5 separate regions of the Homo sapiens genome follow, and all the other regions are linked to region 3. Evidence: promoter capture Hi-C in 16 types of primary human blood cells and fetal thymus (Javierre and others, 2016). All regions are on one chromosome and are shown on one strand. Each heading gives the region's core, a stretch centred on a gene start or on the middle of the fragment in contact. The rest is flanking DNA. Distances are from core to core; before and after follow the strand shown. Region 1 has its middle 230 kb from the start of PRDM2. Region 2 has its middle 210 kb from the start of PRDM2. Region 3 holds the start of LRRC38 (leucine rich repeat containing 38). Region 4 has its middle 270 kb from the start of PRDM2. Region 5 has its middle 250 kb from the start of PRDM2.

Region 1 (4,456 bases), core at 1,723-4,222, 410 kb after region 3:
CTAACATGGTGAAACCCCGTCTCTACTAAAAATACAAAAAATTAGCCGGGCGTGGTGGCAGGTGCCTGTAGTCCCAGCTACTGGGGAGGCTGAGGCAGGAGAATGGCGTGAACCCGGGAGGCGGAGCTTGCAGTGAGCCGAGATCGCGCCACTGCACTCCAGCCTGGGTGACAGAGCGAGACTCCATCTCAAAAAAAAAAAAAAAAAAAATATAATTACTGTTTGTTAAGTGGAAGTGGATCATCATAAAGGTCATCATCCTTGTCGCCTTCATGCTGAGTAGGCTGATGAGGAGGAGGATGAGGAGGGGTTGGTCTCGCTGTCTTAGGGGCGGCAGAGGCAGAAGAAGTGGTGGAGGTGGAAGGGGAGGAAAGGCAGGCACACTTGATGTCACTTTTATTGAAATATATGCTATGTAAGTGGACCCATGCAGTTCAAAGCTGTGTTGTTTGAGGGTCCACTATAGTTAAATCCTAGGAAATGTCCAGTTGATGTATAGTTAAATCCTAGGATTTGCTGATGGATTGAATGCTGGGGAGTGAGGGCAAGAGAAGAGTGGATGCTGACCATGCGGGTCTCCCCTGGATGGCCCGTCGGGCAGAGTGGCCTTTGGCTGAGAGAATAGAGAATGGATGGGAGGGCCAAATATGGGGTGGTGGGGAAGAGCAGTGATTTGGTTTTGATAATGTTCTCTCTGTACTTTTGTTTTTTTCATGGCTCACTGCTTCCCAGTGCCATAAACTCAATCTGCAAGCACTGGCTCAGTTATTCTTTGAGATTTTTATCATCCAAAGATAGCTAGAACTGGAAAAGGCCCCTCAAGGTAAATCCATGTAAATGAAGGCTAAAAACTCAAAGGTATGGCTTAAAAGATAGAAGACTTAGCAGTAAAACTGTAATTAAAAAATTTTAAATAATTTTTTGATGTAGCAAAATTTATGTGGGTATGAAGGGGACTTCAACTTCAGTAATATTTTCTTTTATTAAAATACACTGAAGCAAATAAAGTGATCATGTTTTAATTCTAGGCGGTATAGTTCTTTTTAAAAAACAGCTTTATTGAGATTTAATTTATATATTGTGAAAGGAAAATAAATCTTGGGGCCCCAATATCACTAATCTAAAGGGAAAAGTCAAGCTGGGAACCGCTTAGGGCAAACCTGCCTCTGATTCTATTCAGTCATCCCTGTGCTCACTGAGATAAATGCATATCTGATTGCCTCCTTTGGAGAGGCTCATCAGAAACTCAAAAGAATACAACCATTTGTGTCTTATCTACCTATGACCTGGAAGCCCCCTACCCCACTTTGAGTCATCCAGCAATTGCTTCGAGTTGTCTCGCCTTTCCAGACTGAACCAGTGTTCCTCTTCCATACGTTGATTGATGTCTTATTTTTCCCCAAAATGTATAAAACGAAGCTGTGTCTGACCACCTTGGGCACATGTCGTCAGGATCCCCTGAGGCTGTGTCATGGATGCGGGTCCTCAACCTTGGCAACATAAACTTTCTAAATTAACTAAGACCTGTCTCAGATACTCAGCGTTCACAATATCATACAATTCACCCATTTGACGTGTACAATTCAGTGATTTTTAGTATATTCACAGGTGTATGCCACCATCAACAAAGTCAAATTTAGAGCATTTTTATCAGCTCACATAGAACCCCATACACTTTAGGTCTCACCCACTCCATATCCCCAGATTCCTTCCACCCCGGGCGACCACTCATCTGCTTTCTGTTTCTATGTATTTATCTATTCTGGACATTTCACAGCGATGGGATCATAGATTACGTGGTCTTTTTGTGACTGGCGTCTTGCACTTTGCTTAATGTTTTCGAGTAATTTCAGATACAATCCGTGTTCCTGCATGTATCAGTGCTTTATTCCTTTTTATGGCTGGTATAGTTCTTTATACTTTGCCATAGTTTTGAAAGAGTCACCACTTGGCAGGATAATCTAATGTGGTTATGTTGAAAGGATGTTCTTATCTGTGAGAGCTAAATAAAGTGTCAAAGGGGGATGGGAGTATGGGTGGTTGGAAAAGGCCTCAATGTGGCAGTGACTTTTGGGCAAAGATCTGAAAGAGATGTGAGTACCTGGGAGATGGTGCTCCAGGCAGATGGGATGGGAGGTCTAAAGACCCTGCGATAGATTAAGGAATGTCCCGGTAGGCAATGAATGAGGAGAAAATAGCAGGAAGTGAGGCCCGAGAGGCACTGAGCTGGGGTAGGCTATGGAGATCACTTGGGACCTTGTAGACTGTTGAAGGGAATTTAGATTTTGTTATGGGTGAAAGGGGAAGCTGGGAATGCAGAAGTACCTTGACTGACATACAAGTTCAAGGAGCTCTCTGGCCAGCGGTTGAAAATGGACCATAAGCACTAGAGGACAGAGGCAGAGAGTCCAGGTTGGGAAGAGTGGGTGTGACCATGAATTGGACTCAAGCACTGGGAGTTGCAAATAGAGTTGGGATCCATTTCAAAAATAGTTCTTGGAGGATTTGCTGATGATTGAAGTTGGGGAGTGAGGGCAGAAGAGTGAATGACCATGAGGGTCTCCCCTGGGTGGCCCATAGGATGGAGTGGCCATTGACTGAGATGGTAGAGACTTGGGAGGGGCACATATGGGGTGGTTGGGGGACAGAGCGTGATTTGGTTTTGATAATGGTTTCTCTCTCCCTTTGTTTTTTTTCATTTCAAAGGATCTAGTTCTCATTTGAGTCTTCACTAATGAGTCACTTCTCCTAGGAAGCTTTCACCAATTCTCTCCCAAACTGAGTTGGGGTCTTGCTGACTCCGACAGCACTTCATGCTTCCCTATGCCCTGGCTCACCGTGCTGTTACTACCCAGAGTGGGCAGGACTAGGACACACCAGGCTGGCTGTCTGCCCTGGCTGGCTGAGACCACCAGTGAACACTGCACCTCCCTGCTGGGAGAATAGGGGCTCACTCTTAGTGTGGTGGCAACTCTGCCTATGTGAGCTGGAGGTGCTTTCTTTTCTTACCCTGAAATTTTCGAATTCCATGTTTAGGACAAGAATGAAGCAATGAACAGTCTCCACTTGTGTTTCTGAGTCACCCGATGGCTTCCTCCCACATTTCCCCTGCCTTTTCCCTATTTTCAAGTCCCCTTTGCACAAAGGCATGTACACGTGTAGCCAGTGACATTGGGTCCTGATTACAGTGAAGCTTACAGGTCCTTGTTATTAATGAGTAAAAATAACCAGGCAATGAAAATAAGAAAGGAAGATTTATCTTTAAGAGTTAAAAAAAAAAAAAAAATCTCCTGGGAACTTCAGTGCATGACAGCCATAAATGGCTGTAAATTTTCCCAAGCACAAATCAGTATCTTAAGGTGACAAAATGCTGGCTGGAGTGACATATCATATTTGATACTGGGGTGACAGTTAAAATAGCATCCTCCATATTTGCTATTTTTCCAAGTTAGGGCTTCAAAGGGAATAGCTAGGGAGACAAGAAACATTTATCATCTATGATTTTTGCTCCCTTTCAAAGGTTAACCTTGCTATGGTGCTCAAAGAAAAAAACCTGCAAAAATATGTGTTTTAAATATGCATTTGTCGTAAAGTGCCTAAAATCCCATGTCACTCGGCCCTTTGTTTTCCATGAAAACCCTCATGCAAGATTCTGTCATTGTAGCGTGGCAGCTATGCTAAAAAAGAGATGTCACATTTTCAGTTTCATCAAGCAGGATTCTTGTTTTTGTGTGTGACCCAATTTCCGTGTTCTATAAAGCCCTTTCAGAAATCTTTTAAGATCATAATAATGCAGTCCTGGGTTTTGTTAATAGAAGTACAATATCAAGGTGCCTGTGTCTTCCCTGGAATGAACCTGGTCCTAGTGCAGTTGGAGAAGAAAGACACTGAGGAACTAGAAGGTCACACAGGGACCCTGAAGCAGGTTTGGAAGACTTTCTGTATAAAACAGAGCTGAGCACAGTGGGGCATTACAGAGAGGGCTTAAAATGGGGCCTGGGAGCTGTTTACAGACACCTAAAAGGGTTTGAGCAGGAGGAAGTATTTTTTTCTGCTCATCACATCAGAAGACAAGGTTAGGAATAGCTGGGCAAAGAACCATCAGAGGTGGGTTAGGAGTTTGGTCTGTGTCCCAGGCAGACCTATGTCCAAATCCCAACTTCACTTTTATCCACTTTGGACCTATGTTCAAATCCCAATGGTACTGTTGCATTCTTTGATTCAGTGGCTCTTGGTGGAGGATCTCTTTTGAGCCAGGCATGTTTTTAGGCATGGAAAATACAGTGGATGCAGGATGGAGAAGTTTCCTGCCCCAAGAAGCTTGCATCTTAGTGGGAATCCAAAAGCTAGATCCATATTCTGATATTTAGAAGGTCGCATAGCAACTGAAACAGAGAGGAAACTGGATGTGTGGAGCGGAAGAGACACAAGTACAGGGTGCTCAGAGGCTGCCCTG
Region 2 (3,951 bases), core at 208-2,707, 390 kb after region 3:
AGGCAGACAAGCTTTCTTACCTCCCCGTGCCTGTGTTCAGGACCCACATCCAAGTCTCATCTTCCCTGATGTCGAGCCCTCTAAGATAGCTGGTGTGTGAATATGTGTGTGGAAAGTATTGTAGTTCTAATTCCTCTATCCCAGCATAACCTAAAACCTTGCCATCTATCCCATGTGGCTAATAAAACTCTAGCATTCATTTTACAAGATAAGCAATTGCCTCCGAACAGCCAAAATCTTAGTGTGTGCTATCACTCTGGTTTTCAGTTTTGTAATTTTTTTTTGTTAGTTTGTTTTGTGGATGTATTAATTTCCTATAGCCATTATAACAAATTACCACAACCTCGGTGACTTAAAACGACAGAAACATATTATCTCATTGTTCCGCAGGCCAGAAATCCAAAATCAGTATCTCTGGACTGAAATCAAGGTCTCAAAAGACCTGAGTTCCTTCTGGGAGCGCCAATCTCTCTCCATGGTTACCCAGCTCCTCCTTCTCATCTGTGTATGTGATCTCCCTCTGACTCTCTCTTCTAAGGACGCTTGTGATGGCAATTAGAGCCCACTCGGATAATCCAGGATAATCTCCCCATTACTAGATTCTTAGCTTCAATCACATCATTTGAAAAAAGAGACCCTTGTCCCAAATAACATAACATTTACAAGTTCCAGGGATTAGGATGTAAATGTCTTTTGCAGGGGGCATTTTCAGCCCACTACAGTACATTTCTGTTACTTTAAGAGTTCAGTTTTGTATTTCTAAGGATGCCTATTGTATTTTCAAATGTTTTATAGACTTTCCCCTGAGTCTACCATACTAACTCCCTGAAAAAGAAATAGAGCAAACAACCTCCAGGCTGGAGAGAGAAATACAGAGCCTCCTGGGGGCGGGCTTCGTTTTCGGAGAGGCAGGAGTTGGAGATGTTGAGGCGTAGGTGCTTATAGGTGTGAGGAAATGATGCTTCTAAAACCCTGTGGGGCAGAAAGGCTGTACTACTGCTGAGAAGATGCTGCTGCCTGGGCTGGACCGGCCCAGGTTTCCAGTCTGCCTCTTCCCGTTCTTCTGGCCTAACTTTGTCTCTTGGCTTCCATATATGTGTGATCGACCTTGGTTTACTGCTCTCCTTTGACCTTTAATGTCTTCCATTCTGACAGCCAGAACTGACCTTAAGTCTGTTTCTTATTATCCCCTTTGCCTCAGACACTGGACAAGACATTCACCTGGGACTGTCTCAGGGACTCACTCTGTGCCAACTGGGTGTGGCCAAAACCAGAGCAGGGCCAGGACCAGAAATGACCATTATTACACAGCATGCTATGCTGCAGATGCCACCATGGGAGAGAGACGAATGCATTCCTGAAAATTCCATTCTGGGGCACATCTTCATTCCTAGCGACAGTCAGGCAAACAGACCAAGAGACTGTGTCATGCTTGTTGGGATTCTTCGGGAAGTAAGGCTTCCCGCCTGTGCAAAGGCCATTGCAAAGTGAAATACCCAGTGTCTCCAGGTAATGCGTGGAGTGGTTATGGTGGGCTTCTTGTTCTATTAGCTCAGAGAAAAGAAATATCTATGTGGGTGATTTTTGTTCCTGCCTCTTTTGATGTGGTGTCTCTGTCTTCAGTTAATGTGAATGGCTAAAACCTTGATGAAAAGTGTTTTTGCAGCTGGATTTCCCCTGAGAAGGTATCTCCACCATGCAATAGAATCTTCCAGCACCACAGGGCACCCCCTCCAGGACTAGAGTCCCACTGAAGGCTGGAAACACATTTTGTGCCTCTCAAGCCAGTATTAGGGATCAGTTGGCGAATGTCTCCCTATAGTGAGGTGGAGTGGCCCCTGGGGACTGTGCCAGGATGCTTGGCAGGGTGGGAGCTAGGACCTAAATTCAGTTTAATAGCAGGAAGTGGTAGAGAAGACCCCAGCCCCGGGGTATGGGCCCAGGCCTGGCAGAATGAGTGACAGGATTTAAGGCAAGGCCTTTGAGGGGTGTGTATGAGGCTGTGTGTGTGTGTGTTGGGTGGGTGGGAATGGGGGGTCTTGGAATGAACTAGGCTGGCATTATCTGGTCTCTGTTACTCTCAGGTCCAAGCTCTCTTATCCAGGAGGAAATTCTAAAGGTAACCCAGTCCCTGGAGCCACTGATGTTATCTCCTGGTCCAATAGCCCTTCCACAAACAACCCAAATGTATGCTATGTGTACCCAGTTTCAAAATATTTTCTGGGAAACATAAGGCTGAATTAGTCTGGCAACCTTCAGACTGGCTTCTCATGAAAGCTCAGTCTCCCCATGAGACATTTTTGGATGGGTTTGGGAGTAACTTCTCCCACCGCAACATTTTTTTTGGCTTGGATGATACTTCTTGTGCCCCTGTTGGGTGAGGTTATAAGACTGTGTAGTTCGTAGAGAAAAAGAGAATGTGCTTGTCCTAAACAAGAGCTGATTCTCTGAGAATTATTGGGGTCTGAAGACAGCAATACTGGTGCACAAATTTATAATATGATTAGCAGTGGTAGCAGGAGATGGAATAGATGACAAGGCAAAGAGAACATTTGCTGTCAGCTGGCCTGCAGGAACTTAATAATTTAAAGAAAGTGCCAGCCACATTGTGGCAGTCCATTTTTCTACTTGAAACAGAATTCCTGGACTTTGTTTCATACTGAAGACGTGGTTTATTTTTAGTTACATCAGAAAGCCTGTAGCTGGGGTTATTCAGAAAGCTGGACTGCCCATGAGAAACAGGCAGCATCAACACATTGTCTTGTGGTTTAGAAAGACTCTCTTGCCTGCTCTAGCATGAAGGACCAGCCACTTGCCTTTGAGGGTAATGAGAGAGGTCATGAGAAAGCTAGGGGGTTTCAAAGCAGTCCACGCCTTCTTGCACAAAGCTATTGCTATAGGCTGAAGCTTGGCTCTTTGGCCTTGACGGCTCTTTGGTCAAGAAAGCTCCAGCCTAAATAGCTAATTCCCCTGGGTCCTAAGTGTTCATTAAAAATCCAGTTTGTCAGGTGGTACCACCCTGGTTGTCCCCAGTTTAAACAAAAGTTCCTTTGTGGACACTGGCAGTTGGAAACGGAAACTTGGAGCCGTGTCGAAGCCAGATGGCAGCCAGCAGAGACTTTATAGCTTTTCTTGGGAAGGCATTGATCACTGATAAACGAACTGGGCATTGCAGAAGAACCCTTTGCCATTATCTTGTCCCTTGGTAAACTAAAGCATGGTGGGGCCTGTACTTCCCTTTCAAGGGTCATAAACTTCTCAAGTGGTGGAACAGGCCCGAGCTAGGATGCTGAGCTGCAAAAATTGTTGTGTGTGCAGAAATCCACGGTGACAAGACCTGTGTTCACCCCAAGTAGCATCATGGCAGAGCTGTTAAGGACTTTCGTGAGCTGGAGAACATAAAATAAACACATGTTTTATGAGACCAAAGAGAGTAAGTACGAGGCTACTCCTTGGGCTGCCTTTTGTTTTCGCAAAGCAGCAGAGCTCGCAGGTTTGCCTCTTCTCCTCGCTTCTTGGTACACGCAGGTGGGTGAAGTCCACCAAGTCAGGGAAAGTCGGTAGGTGCTTTCTTATCCCTACAAGAGGAGAAGATGGGCATTGGCAGGGGGCATTTAGGTATAAACATTTCTTATGGAAGTACAAGGTTATTGATAATCTTAGTGTCCAGCCTTGAATTATGGGATTGGTGGACACACCAGTTAATTTCACTGGTTCTTAAGTACCAACAATAGCAACAATGTATCTGCAAGCTCAGAGTTCAGATAACATCGGGGGTGATTTCAATTAGGAGATAAGACAGTGTGAGTCTTTCTCCTTCCTGGGATGCCTGACAATAAAAGAAAAAGTCTGTAAACCTACGAAAGGCTGTGTTTTTTCAGGGGCAAGAGGGTGAGGAGGGAGGTATTGATTTCTCTCTCTTAGGTAGTGAGGAGGAGAGCTCCCGTCTAG
Region 3 (4,335 bases), core at 912-3,411:
GAGTGAGCACCCCGAAGCATGGGGTGTGTTTGATGACAGTTGGGAATGAAGATATGAATGCAGGAGTTCAGCACACAGATGAACAGCATCCTTGATTTCTCCGTAAATGGAAAAAAAAATATTCTGAAGCTAAATCTGCATGTATGTCACCTTTGATGATGTGCGCCTTGCAGCTGTGGTCCCAATTCTGCTGAAATCTTGGGAGCAAGGCAGGAGGCAGAGTTCAGCTCTGAGAGGTCACTGCGGGCACTGGTGCTCACAGGGTCACAAGTGGGAGGCTGGAATCCACTTGGGGGAAGGACACCCACCTGCCACCTGCCTCCTCACTCTGGGTGCTCATCCCTGTGGATGCTGGGGTCCCCTCCTTCTCAGCTCCACCCGTGCTCCCTTCCTGCGGGCCTTAATGGAGCCCCTTAACTCCCTCCGCCCTGGTGTTCCCATCTGCCAAGTGAGTTTTTATGCCCACGCCGCCATTGGAAGCGTGCACCAGGAAAGCAAAGGGGGCACCAGCCCTCTACATTTTGGTTCAGCTTTTTCACATCTGGCTGAAAAGCCACAGAGAACTACAAATCATTACTGCATCATTGGCTCTTAATGGGCTGCCATTATTCCACATCAGAAATCTTCCTCACCCATATTAGACAGAAGAGCAAACTGGAGCTGAGAAGCTGAGAGGCCAGGTTAGGCTCGGGAAGCTGCTGGAGAGCCCTTGGAACTGGCTGACTCCCCGTGCACGGTACTGAGAATACGGCCGTTTCCCATAGAGTAGGCTGCATTCCGCTTACCAGGGACGCATAAGTAATCCACACCCGCCAGTCCTAGGACCCAAAGCCCAGGGAGATGATCCTGGGCATCCCGAGAAGGGGAAGGTCCCTAACTTGGTAAAGTGAGTTACTGGAGAAACAGGGGAAGAAGTACAGCCTCAGGGTTCAGAAACTCCAAAGAATTCCAGATGCGTCCCTCTCCACCCACTTCCCCAGCAGAGACCCAGGAAAAGTTCAGGATCCCCCAAGCCTCCTCTTCCAAACTCAACCCACGGCTCCTCCCACCCAGACTGGGGTCTGGGGTGGCCTCTCCCTGCCCCCCTCCCTCCCTCCCCCAGCCTAGCCGGCTCGGCTCACCTTTGGGCAGTTTGGATGCGTTCTCCTGGATCCAGGAGAAGAGGTGGGCGAAGTCACAGTCGCACAGCCAGGGGTTCCCGTCCAGACGCAGGGAGCGCAGCGCGGGCAGCGCGGCCAGGGCGGCCACGCTGAGGCTGCGCAGGTTGTTGTCGTTGAGCTCCAGCACCTGCAGCGACTCCAGGGTCTCGAAGGCGTCCTCGTGCACGCCCACCAGGTTGTTGTTAGCCAGGCTAAGCTTCACCAGCCTCCCGGCCGAGCGGAAGGCGCCGGCGCCCAGCTGGGTCAAGTTGTTGTAGCTGAGGTCGAGGAACACGAGCTTGGCCGAGCCGCTGAACGTGCCCTCCTCCAGCGAGCGCAGCGAGTTGTTCCTGAAGTCCAGGTAGACCAGGTCGCCGTAGAAGATGAAGAAGTCCTCGGGGATCCGCTGGATGCGGTTGCCGGCCACCAGCAGCTTGCGCACGTCCAGGGGGAAAGGGTCTGGCACGCTGGGCAGCCCGCGGTCGCGGCAGTCCACGGTGTGCGGGTCGGTGCAGGCGCAGCCCGCGGGGCACGCGTGCCCGGGCGCGAGCAGCAGCAGAAGGCTGCAGAGCCCGAGCGCCGCGGCGGCGCAGGCTGGGGCTCGGGGGCGCATGGCCGGGGGGCCCGCGCCGGCCGCGGCGAGAAGGAAGCGGCTCTCGGAGCGAGCCCTGGCGCGGGACGGCGCGGTGAGGCACTGGCTGCCGGGCGCGGGGAGCCAGAGGGCGGCCCGGGCGGGGAGGGCGTGCGCCCGGGCGTGCGGGGGCGATGGAGCGCGGCGCGGACGGACTGGGGAGCCGGGACAGCAGGGATGGAGAGGGGAGGGGCGGGGAGGGAGGGGCGAGGGACTCACCAAAGGGTTTACCCGGACAGGAAATTAACCCGCTAGAAAAATCTCTTGGGAGAGGCGGGAGCGGCAGGGGTGGCCGAGTGGCCGTCGCCAAAACGCGGCCCCACCCTGGCAGCTGATTTCCGAGATCTGGCAGTAAGACGCCGCGCGCACCGGGCGGGCTGCACTCGACGTCTAAGTTCAGCTACCAAGCCCAGGAGCGGTTTCCCTAAGGCGTGTCCCGGGCGTGCGCCCTGCCCCCTCGCGCCCGCCTGGTGCCAAAGCACGCTCCCTGCACGCCACCCTATGTCGCCAAAGGGAGTGGGACCTGGGTCACTCTGACTCTGCTCCGGGGGCAATCCCTGCAGGTTCTCGGGTGCCGCGCCAGGGTCTGCTGGTCTGAATTTGGGCGGGGTTCCAAGGGGAGAGAGTGAGTGACTGGTCTTCCCTCTTCCCTCCCCCACCTGCACTTGAACCATCTTAGGCTGGAGGGTGAGCGAGGCAAGTGGCTGCCAGGGCCCCCGCTGTGGCCTGCAGGGCCAGTCAGCACTTTCCATGCCGGCCCCGAACTTCTGGATGGAACTGGCATCCATGCAAGGATCAGCTGCTGGTCTGAGAGGTCCAGCTGCTGAGGCTCTGAGGCCTGGAGTCACCAGGCCTGGCTTCCAAGCTGTGTGGCCTCAGACCAGTACCTCTGCCTCTGTGGACCTGGTAGCTCCATTTGTGAAATGGAAAAAGGTAATATATATCTCATCAGCTTTGGGGGAGGACCAAGAAGTCAAGAACAAAGTTCAAAAATTATCTTTTCCTCTCTCCCCCTCAAAACCCCACCTTGGATAGCCTAGGGAGGCAGTCAGGAACGTGCCAAGGCTGAGATGAAAGGACAGTGAGGAAATGCTGATGTCAGCCTCTGACACTGGCAGGAAAATTCCCTCTTCACCACCCCGATGCCAAACTCCTTTCTTTCTGTCCCACCTCATTCTAGAAACTTCTATATGGGGAGGGGTCCCCACAGAGCTACCAAGAGATTGTCCCGCTGTTGGCTATTTTGGTCCAAATGCCCTAGAATTGACAGACTCCCACTAGACCAAAATAACCCAGGGAACAGCTGTTGGGCAGCAGGCTCCCAGAGACCCTTCCCTGGCCCCTGGCCATGCTGGGGATTGGTGGAGCCTCGGATTCTGAAGCCATAAAGCTAAGCCCTCGGCCTTCTTCCAAAGGTACAGGCCGACTTGATGCCTCTGAGCCATGGGATGAAAAAACTGATCCCCTGGGATGGAGCCAAGGGCTCAACAGATGAGCATATTTGCAGGAGCCCTGGGGAAGAGGCGGGGGAGACCCAGGGGGAAGCTTTGAGGCACCTGGAGTCCTGCAGCTTTTCCCCTACTTACATTCCAGGCCACTAAGCCAGACCTCCCTCAGTTCTCCGTCTCTGTCTCCACTCTCCCAGGGTGCCCAATTTGCCATTGCCATCCCCAACTTCAAGGGCTCAGCTTCCCCACCCCAGTCTCATGCTCTTGAAGAGGCAGGTGTCGGGAGGAGTGGTCTGAATGCTCCCAGAGTGGATGAAAATGCTTCTGCCTACATAAATGATGTATAAATTATTGAAGAGTCACACAAAGTGCAGGCAGGTGGCAGAATAAACACATCTCCCACCCTTGCAACTCTGCAAAAGCAGCCTGAACCGAACTGTTGCACTCTGCCAATCTCAGGCTTGGTTCTGCCTGCTCCCTCCTGTACTGAGGGGAACCTATTACTGGTTTGAGCCCTTAGCATCATGGTTTCATGACACCCGCATTTGGTTGGGCTGCCATCTTGCACGTGCATGCCCGCGTGTCTGTATGTCTGGGTGTGTACACAAGCCCTCCCTGCCAAGTGGTCTGGTTGGCTGGAGCACTGACCTATATGAATCAAGACCCTGGGTCTGGTCCTGGCCCCACCACTAGCCACAGAATCTTTCACAAGCCACTTGATCTCTCTGGGGACTTCTTAGCCTGGGTCCCCAGATACTATGAAGAGGAGGTCTTTTCAAAATTTAAAAAAGTCTGGTGAAAATTAGGCCTTTATCTTTGAGGAGGTCTCCCGGATTAAATACTGCAATTCTTGCCAGTGAACTTAATGGTAGCACTAGTCCTTTTGTGCAGAACCGGCATTCATAGGTGACTTTAAGAAAAACAGAGATGAATTTCTACTGAATAAATGCAAGTATTTAGTTGACAAGGACTTGCAAAACAGGGGAATGCATGGTACTAAAATATTAAGAGGGGCTCTTGGTAACAAACCTATTGAGAAATACCACTCCTAGCCTTGATTTCCTCATCCTGAAACTAATGAAAAAATACCTTTCTTCTTCCTTTCCACAGACAACGT
Region 4 (4,248 bases), core at 1,213-3,712, 460 kb after region 3:
AACTGGACTGGAATCAAAACATCTGGATCTTGCTGTCAGCTCTTGCTTGAACTTACTGTGTGTCTTTGGGAAAGTAATTTCCTTTCAGTTAACATCTGTAAAATTAAGGTTTTGACTAAGGACTCCCACCAGTTATTCTGTGTCTCAAAGACCAAATCCCTGTGTTGAGTCAAGGTTTAGAATCTGGATATAAGGACCCTTATATAATGCAATGATTTAACATATTTATTGTCTATCACATGCCAGGAATTGTTTTAGGTACAATAAAAATATTCTTGCTCTCAAGGGGCTTCTTTCTTTTTCTCATTTTCCCTCCACCTTTTCCTCCTTGTCTTCCTTCTCCTTATTCTTCTCTTCATCCTTTTCCTCCTCCCCTTCATCTTCTTCCTCTTCATCTTTATTATCAACATCTATAAAACAGTGATCTGGCATTCACATTATTCCAGACGATGTACTAAGTTCTCCCTTGACATGTATCATCTCATGTAAACTTCATAACAACCTCATGGAGGTAGAGGCTATCACCACCACTGTGCTGGGTATTTCCCCCTTTCCCCTCTAGATCCACTGTCTGCCCTTCTCCACCCTGCTTTATTCCCTAGGAGGCTGACCCCTGTGGACCTCATTAGCTGTCTTCCTTACTTTCAGGTGTCTAGTTGGGCTTAACCAGTGGAAACCACTGGCAGAAGAGTAGAGGATCAGAAGAGAGTGAGGTCAGAACACGTATTTACCTGGCTTGCTTCTCACCAGGTTGCCATGATCTCTGGCTCTGATCAGGCAGTCCCCTTCATACAAATGCCTTCTCTGGATTCAGGTAACAACTCCCTCAACTTGCCTTTCAGGCCTACGGTGTTACCAGCTTTCCAGTGTTTGTAGCCCAAGGGTACTGCATCATCCTATGTTGGTTTTCTTAAATCCTGACCACACCTTCGTGCCTAATCCCTTTATGCATTTTCCTCCAATAACCCAGTTTGACAGTGTCGTGCATCTTCTGCTGAGACTTTGTTAACATCCCCATTTTACAGATGAGGAAACTGAGCTTTAACACCAGCCCTATCACAAATGGGCTGTGTGATCTCCATCCTGGGTCTCAGCTCAAATACCATCTCTCTGAGAAGACTTCCCTTGTGCCTCATTAAGTAGACCCCTGCATCGGGTGTCCCCACGACCACCCACAGGTCTGTTGGTTCACCAGGAGGATTCCTAAGACTATGCATATCGTCATACTCACAGCTAGGACTAGGATGATCCAAGGCAAAATCAGCCAAAGAAAGAGATGCATGGGGCAAAGTCTGGTGGAAACCAGGCACAAGCTTCCAGGAGCTTCGCTCAGGGGAGTCACATGGGATGTGTGTCAATCCTCCAACACTGGATTGTGACAATGTGTGTGAAATGTTATCAAACCAGGAATTTGTAAGAGATTCACTGCCAGTGTTTTTAATGGGGGCTGGTTATGTAGATCTTCTCTGCCTAGCATGTACCAAAACTCCAGACCCAGAAGAACAAGCAGCTGCCTAGAATAAACCACATTGTACAAACAATCTAGGCATAATGGGCCACTCTTATCATTTAGGGAAAGTTTATATCAGTGTAGGGAACTGTTTAAGATGTAAGTTGGCAGATACCAGCTGTAGTGAGTTGAAAAATGGTGCCTTTAAAGATCTGCCCACATCGAATTCTCAGAAGCTGTGAATGTGGCCTTATTTGGACAAGGGTCTTTGCAGATGTAATTAATTAAGGATCTTGGGATGAAGACATCATCCTGGATTATCTGGGTGGGACCTAAATCCAGTGACAAGTGTCCTCATAAGAGACAAGTATCCCTTATAAGGAACAATTTGGCAGACAGAAGAGGAGAAGACAATGTGACCATGGAGGCTGAGATGGGAATGCTGCTGCCACAAGTCAAGGAATGCCTGGGGTTGCCAAAAGCTGAAAGAGGCAAGGGACAGTTTCTCCCCTAGAGCTCCCTGAGGAAGCAAAGGAAGCAAGGTCCTGCTGGATTTGGGATTTCCAGCCTCCAGAACGGTGTGGGAGTCAATTTCTGTTATTTTAAGCCACCTATTTTGTGGCAGTTTGTAATGGCAGCCCCAGAAAACCACTACACCAGCCAAGGGCCAACCTTGTAAACCTTAGATACCCTGGAGGTCTCACACAGACCTTCAAGACTGCTTTGTTAACTCTTTTTTATATCCGCCCTTTCCCTACAGTGTAATTTGCTATCAGATGATCTATTTATTTTTATAGCACTTTTCTTATCCTAATTATGTTGTTTTCTAGTTGTTCATTTAACATGTATTTATTGATCACTTTCCATGTTCTAGGCACTGTGCTGGATTTTGGGTGTAGAGTGATAAGAACAGATGGGGACTCTGCTCTTAGAGATTTTACGTTGAGAGCCTACAGTAGGAAGACAGATCATAGAGTGTGTCAGGGTGGTGGCTGAGTCAGCTGCCCACCCCTGCCTCCACATGTATTTGGATCGAATTTGGCACTTTCTGTCATTACTCAGAAGGCAGGAGTGGGGCCTGGGGAGGCCTTTGATTGTGAGGCACTTCAAGGCCACTGTTCAGAACACTTGGTTACTTCATCACAGCCCATACCAAGCATATAAAAAAGGTCTCTTTATTCTAAGAGTATCTTTGAGTGAGAAAGGAGCTTCAGATATCAGTGGGCTGAGAGGTGATGCTTCAGAGGCTCGACTCTTTCCTCTGCACTTAGAACCATGTGTAGCGGAAAAGAGCTGCATGTGCCTAATTTGCAACTTGAAACACAATTGGACTTTCTCTATGTATTTGTTTATCATATGTCTGTTAAATTATAGCTACCCAAACATGCTCTTGAGTCCCCAGTGCTGAGTAAAAACTTAGAACAGAATAGATACTCATCAAATATTGATCAAATGAGTGGATGAATGAGCCATACATTTCCTTAAACAAAACTTAACACACCGGCAGGTAGATAGTATTGACTCAATTGTCTCCCCTACCAGATCATGAACTAGTCGGGAACACGAGTCACGTCATGATGTTTTTTGTGGTCCTGGCACATTGATGGGGTCAGTCAAGGCTTGCTGAATGAATGAATGAATGAATGAATCAAAAGGAATAAATATGAGTACACGCATAGTAAACCCAGCTTCTGAAAGGTGTTTTGATGAAAAAGTAAAGCAACATTTCTCAGAGTGCTTTGGAAGTCTCTCCTAGATTTAGGCCACTTTTCCTCTGTGTTTTTGGTGTCTAGGACAATTAATTTTGTTCAGTCCATTGCACCCTGCCTTGAATTCAGATGCCTGGGTGATTTTTCTAAAACTTTGGCTGTTTATCTTGTGAGGCTGGTTCTTCCATTAATATACCCCATCTGTTCTGCTCTCCAAATAATGTCTTCGTGAGAATTCTTAAAGTTGGCCTCTAGAATCCTTAGTTTTCAGATGATTTTTCCATTTACAATAATGACCATTCTGTCTAATTTTTATTCTTAATATTTTCTGATGGACTTTCCAAATGCATCCATGCTTTTGATTTTCAAAGAGAGCAAATGGGAAATCGACTAATAAAAATCTGTAATGTAACGGTTTTAATAAGTCAATCTGTCCTTTGCTGTCATAGAACCAAGCTTCCATTTCACTGTTCAAGAACTCATCAGATGAAATGACCTCCTTGTCAAGAAAAATTACTCCATATGGTAATGTAATCACAAAGGAGAAACATTATTTCCCTATATATTATTCCCCGCAGAAATTGCAGTAAGAAAGCCATCATATTAAAAATATCTAGGATGCTGAGGTTCCTGTTTGCCAGCCTGATGGAGTTCATTTTCTTTATAGGAGAGGCAAACTCAGTTCTCATTGGCAGCATTTTATTTTAAAGGTTCATTAGGCAATTGTACATTACACTGGAACACCTGTGGAAGTGCAGATTATATCTACATGAATATAAATGCATTTGTTATGACTCACGCTATTACAGTCAATAACAGATGTCTTTTTAAGAACAGGCACTTAAAAAGAAGTGTGTATCGATGCATCCACCTATCTTCCTTAAGATGCTAGTGGCAGCACTGTGTGTTTTTTTAATTTAGAAAGTTAGTATAAGGAGAGATTAAAGCATCTCTCCTCTATTAAGCATCACCTTCCCTAAAAAGTGCAGTGCTAGTCAGAAAAATGTATATGTTTAAATAGCATCTTACTTAATGAATCCTTTTCATGAACCACATTTACTGCACAAGGAAATATTTTTCTTCATCTTA
Region 5 (3,938 bases), core at 427-2,926, 440 kb after region 3:
GACGAGGTGTTTTTAGGGTGAGATTTTTTTCCATGTCTATGGGGTTCCATAATGGCGATCATAACAGCTCACACTTTACTGAGCCCTTTTTCTGTGCCAAGCAGCGTCCTTAGCACTCCTTGAACTTCATCACATTCAAAAAGGTCTCCTATTATCCATATGAATATACCTTATGATGGAGAAGTAATCTGGGTCAGCTAGAAGTTGTCTTTCCCAAGGCTGAGCCAGCTGGCAAATGTGTGACAGAATCTAAACCCAGACAGGCAGACCCCAAAGCCCCATTCTCAACATCCATCCTCTAAGGTCAAAGGTAACGGGGAAGCTGCTGCTCAAAACACAGCCGAGACACCATCCAGTTTGGACCTGGGAGGATTCCCACTGCAACTGTTGACTATAAGACTGAGTTTGATGTGAGGAGGAACTTCATGGCTAAGATTTGGAGACACTGGGTCCGAGTAAGATTGAAAGGCCTTGGAATGGTGGGTAGGGGCCTTCCAGATCCCGCCCCTGCCTTGCTCTGCAGCCCCCTCTTCCAACACATCCCCACACCCCAGGGCTGAGCCTGCTCCCTGAGCCTTGCTCCCTCCCAGGCCTCTTCCTTTGCTTCATGCACCTGCTGCTTTGTTTGGGCTGCACTTCCTCCCTCTTGGCCTTTGTCATTGGGTGCCCAGGTTTTTCTCTGTCCCCGCCTCCTCCGATGGTCCTGCACAATGCTTCCTTGGTGTCCCTTATGCCTTCCAGACCTCCCTGGCCAGGCCAGTGCCCTTCCAGGTCACCTCTTCTGGCATCCCACATTGCCCCCACAGAGCACTTCCAGCTGTCCTTTTGTACCCATTTCTGGGATTTGATGGTCTCTCCTATCAGACTGTCAGCTCCATGAGGACAAGGACTGTGTCTGTTTCTCCTTATTGTATATCCCCAGCGTTCAGTGTACTGCCTGGCAAATAGTTCATGTTCAAAATATTTTTTGAATGAGTTGTCTGAGTTATCTACTTGCTTGTGGGCTTCCTTACTAGACTATCAGGAAACAGCATCTGGCAGGTAGTAGTTGATGTGTTCAAATTGGGATTTTTAGTAAAGATACAGCTTACAAAGGCAGCGTCGGACTGCAGGAGTTATTATAACCCTCAGGCCTGAGCAGACCAGGAGAGGGAAGGGCTGCCTAGAAGGAGCTGCGGCCTGGAGAGAGCAGAGGAACGAATACCCCAACCTCATCAGCCACTCATTCTTTGACTTCTCTATGTGCCTCCCATTGACTGAGCCCACAGGGCAGCTAGAGGTCAAGGGGGTTCAAGGATGCAGTTCCCACTGGCTGCCTCTTGGGGCGTTTCAGGGGCAAGGTCGTCTATCCAGTACTGTGTGTTAAATAGGTATACAAAGGAAGGAATCGCCTTCCCAAAAGATGTGATAGTGTTGCAGTTCTCGGGAAACTGTCAAAGGAGAAGATAGAACGGGATGTTTCTGGTCTTGTTGGGAAATGACCCTGCCTGGAGTCCATGGGATTCCTCTTCCTTTCAGCCTTTTTTCTTTGGCTAATACCCAGCCCTGTATTAAGGATTTGGAATTTGCAGGCGATACCATTGCATTGTCAGGTAGAGATTCTTTGAGCAAAGACTTTAGAGAGGAGACACTGTGGGTGTGCCCAGTGCACAGTGTTGGGGGTCAGCATGTTTGAGTGAACATCCTGGCTCCCGGAGAGGCAGCAAGGCATAGTGTGGTAAGGGACATGGGACCTGGAGTTAGCCTATCCAAGTTCAAATCCTGGATCTGGATCTACCACTTCACAGCTGTGTGGCTTGACTTTCCCATCTGTGAAATGGGGATAAGGGTAGATGAGGATAAGATGAGCTAGTCCACGCAAAGCACTTAGACCCATGCCTGGCTCATGGTTCGGGGACCACACTTCCTGGTGAGCTCAGGATGGCCCCAAAGTATGCCTGTCATCCCAGAAGAATTATTACTAATGTCCCCTTTATTCTCAAAAGGGTTCTGGTTTGGAGATGACTCACGTGGTCTTACACACTGTAGGGTGTTGTTATGTCTTGCTGAATATTTGGACAAGCCACTTCACTGCTTAGAATCTTAGCTCTAAAATGGAGATAATAATAATAATAATAATAATAATAATAATAATAATAATAATAATATCTGCTCTTCTGGGTTGATTTGGGATGATAGGATGAAACAGAATGGCCAGCACAGGGTTGCTGTCCATGATGATCATGCTCTTTGTGTTTCTCTAAGTCCAGGCAAGCCATACAGACATAGATGGATTCCCACCCCCTTACCACCCACTTTCTGCTTTTATAAAAATCTCTCAAGTAAAAGTGCCTTAAGACACATGATGCCAAGGTATGACCCACAGTGCTGTTGCCTTGGTGGTTATCTGGCCTGCCCTAGCTGTGCTATTTATTATCAGTTGGGTAGTTTTAGTAACAGTTTCCCAGGGAAATCTTGAACCAGGTCAGGCCTGTTTGCAGTAAAGAAAGGGTGGTGTCTTAACCCAGATCCCTGCAGGCCTATGGGAGCTGTTGATTGTTTGAGGACTATTTGTTGCATAATCTCCTTTCTTTTAGCAGCTTCTTATTTGAGCAGGAAAAGGGGTTTCAGGACTCCCTAGAGCTTCTACTTTATTTGTTATTAATATTATTTACTGGGCTGCCTTTTTGTCTTCTAAATTGAATTACTCTCAAAAGGGTTCTGGTTTGGAGATGACTCATGTGGTCTTACACACTGTAGGATGTTGTCATGTCATGCTGAATATTTGGACAAGCCACTTCACTGCTTGGAGTCTTAGGTATAAAATGGAGATAATAATAATAATAATAATAATAATAATAATAATAATAATAATATCAATATCTGCTCTTTTGGATTGATTTGGGATGATAGGATGAAACAGAATGGCCAGCACAGGGCTGGACAATTGGCCTGGGAGGCTCAGAGCTTCGCAATTCTTCTAGGCACTATCTTATCTCTCCTCTCACCCCTTACATGGAGGTGAATTTTGGCTTTATTGACTCAGGGAGGAGTTGTGGTTACTTCTTGGGCCCTGTGCTGGTTCCTTTTAAAGAGGAGAGAGAACAAACAGCAGCAAGCTGGGGCAGGGTCTTCTGGGAACTGTTATAAACCCCCGATCGCTTTCAGAACACCTTATAAAGTCAACCTGTGTGCACACAGACGCATGACATTGAAAGGTCCCCCTGGCCAGATCACCAGGAAAGCTCCTCATGTTGCAAGGCCACTGGCCAGCCGGAGCTCAAATACCAGTAGTATCAGCTGGACCACAATTGTGCTGTGTGACCTTGGGATGTCCCTATCCCTCTCTGGATCTCCACTTAGTCGCCTTTAAAATGAGGAAACTGAACCAGAGTTCTCTATGATTTTCCTCCTAGTTATATGATTCTTTATTTCCTAAGATATAGGGAGATACATTTTTAGCTCATCATAAAAGATATTCGAACAGCCAAAGCTGCCTGATGATCAACAGAATGGGCTGCCCTGGAGTATTGAGAAACCTGTGGTTAGAGGTATTCAAGTAGAAGCAACAGAACAGGCTGTGGTGGGAACTACAGAACGGCCCCCGAATTCAATAGACAATTGGCCTGGGAGGATCAGAGCTTCCGCAGTTCTTCCAGGCACTATCTTATCTCTCCTCTCACCCCTTACATGTTGGAGGTGAATTTTGGCTTTATTGACTCAGGGAGGAGTTAGGCTACTTCTCAGGGCCTGGAATGGTCTAAAGTAACACCTCTCAGAATCTGGAGATACTTTTTGGCCCGTGGAGTACTTCATGCTGTAGAAGTCAATCTTGGTTCTGCACTAAGCCTGACTACGGGAGAGAGGCTTTTGCAAAGATCATTATGAAGGACCTCAGGATGAACTGAGTGAGTTCCATGTCCAAGTTTTATCTTCACCTCAAAATTGAATGGTTGTTT

What was found. The method cuts DNA at HindIII sites, captures the fragments that hold promoters and counts their contacts. A CHiCAGO score of 5 or more calls a contact.
Region 1: a fragment that was not itself captured here is called in contact with the fragment with the promoter of LRRC38 in region 3 in 1 of 17 cell types (naive B cells); the score reaches 5.2 in naive B cells.
Region 2: a fragment that was not itself captured here is called in contact with the fragment with the promoter of LRRC38 in region 3 in 1 of 17 cell types (total B cells); the score reaches 5.2 in total B cells.
Region 4: a fragment that was not itself captured here is called in contact with the fragment with the promoter of LRRC38 in region 3 in 4 of 17 cell types (total B cells, naive B cells, M2 macrophages and 1 more); the score reaches 7.6 in total B cells.
Region 5: a fragment that was not itself captured here is called in contact with the fragment with the promoter of LRRC38 in region 3 in 3 of 17 cell types (naive B cells, M0 macrophages and M1 macrophages); the score reaches 6.1 in naive B cells.

Annotation. Positions count from the first base shown.
Region 1 is chr1:13,923,383-13,927,838 of GRCh38, forward strand. It overlaps a transcript of KAZN not described here. Among named protein-coding and RNA genes, the nearest start is that of PRDM2, 230 kb to the left of the region's middle. The HindIII fragment of the contact is 437 bases long and covers 2,755-3,191 here.
Region 2 is chr1:13,905,495-13,909,445 of GRCh38, forward strand. It overlaps a transcript of KAZN not described here. Among named protein-coding and RNA genes, the nearest start is that of PRDM2, 210 kb to the left of the region's middle. The HindIII fragment of the contact is 2,896 bases long and covers 10-2,905 here.
Region 3 is chr1:13,511,842-13,516,176 of GRCh38, forward strand. LRRC38 (leucine rich repeat containing 38) reads right to left here and starts at 2,162. Exons shown (of 2, transcript NM_001010847.2): 1 at 1,122-2,162. The coding sequence starts at 1,752. LOC107984918 (a long non-coding RNA gene) reads left to right here and starts at 1,379. Exons shown (of 3, transcript XR_001737896.2): 1 at 1,379-1,500; 2 at 2,450-2,703; 3 at 4,329-4,335. The HindIII fragment of the contact is 1,959 bases long and covers 1,355-3,313 here.
Region 4 is chr1:13,972,731-13,976,978 of GRCh38, forward strand. It overlaps a transcript of KAZN not described here. Among named protein-coding and RNA genes, the nearest start is that of PRDM2, 270 kb to the left of the region's middle. The HindIII fragment of the contact is 2,302 bases long and covers 1,312-3,613 here.
Region 5 is chr1:13,949,525-13,953,462 of GRCh38, forward strand. It overlaps a transcript of KAZN not described here. Among named protein-coding and RNA genes, the nearest start is that of PRDM2, 250 kb to the left of the region's middle. The HindIII fragment of the contact is 4,854 bases long and covers 1-3,938 here.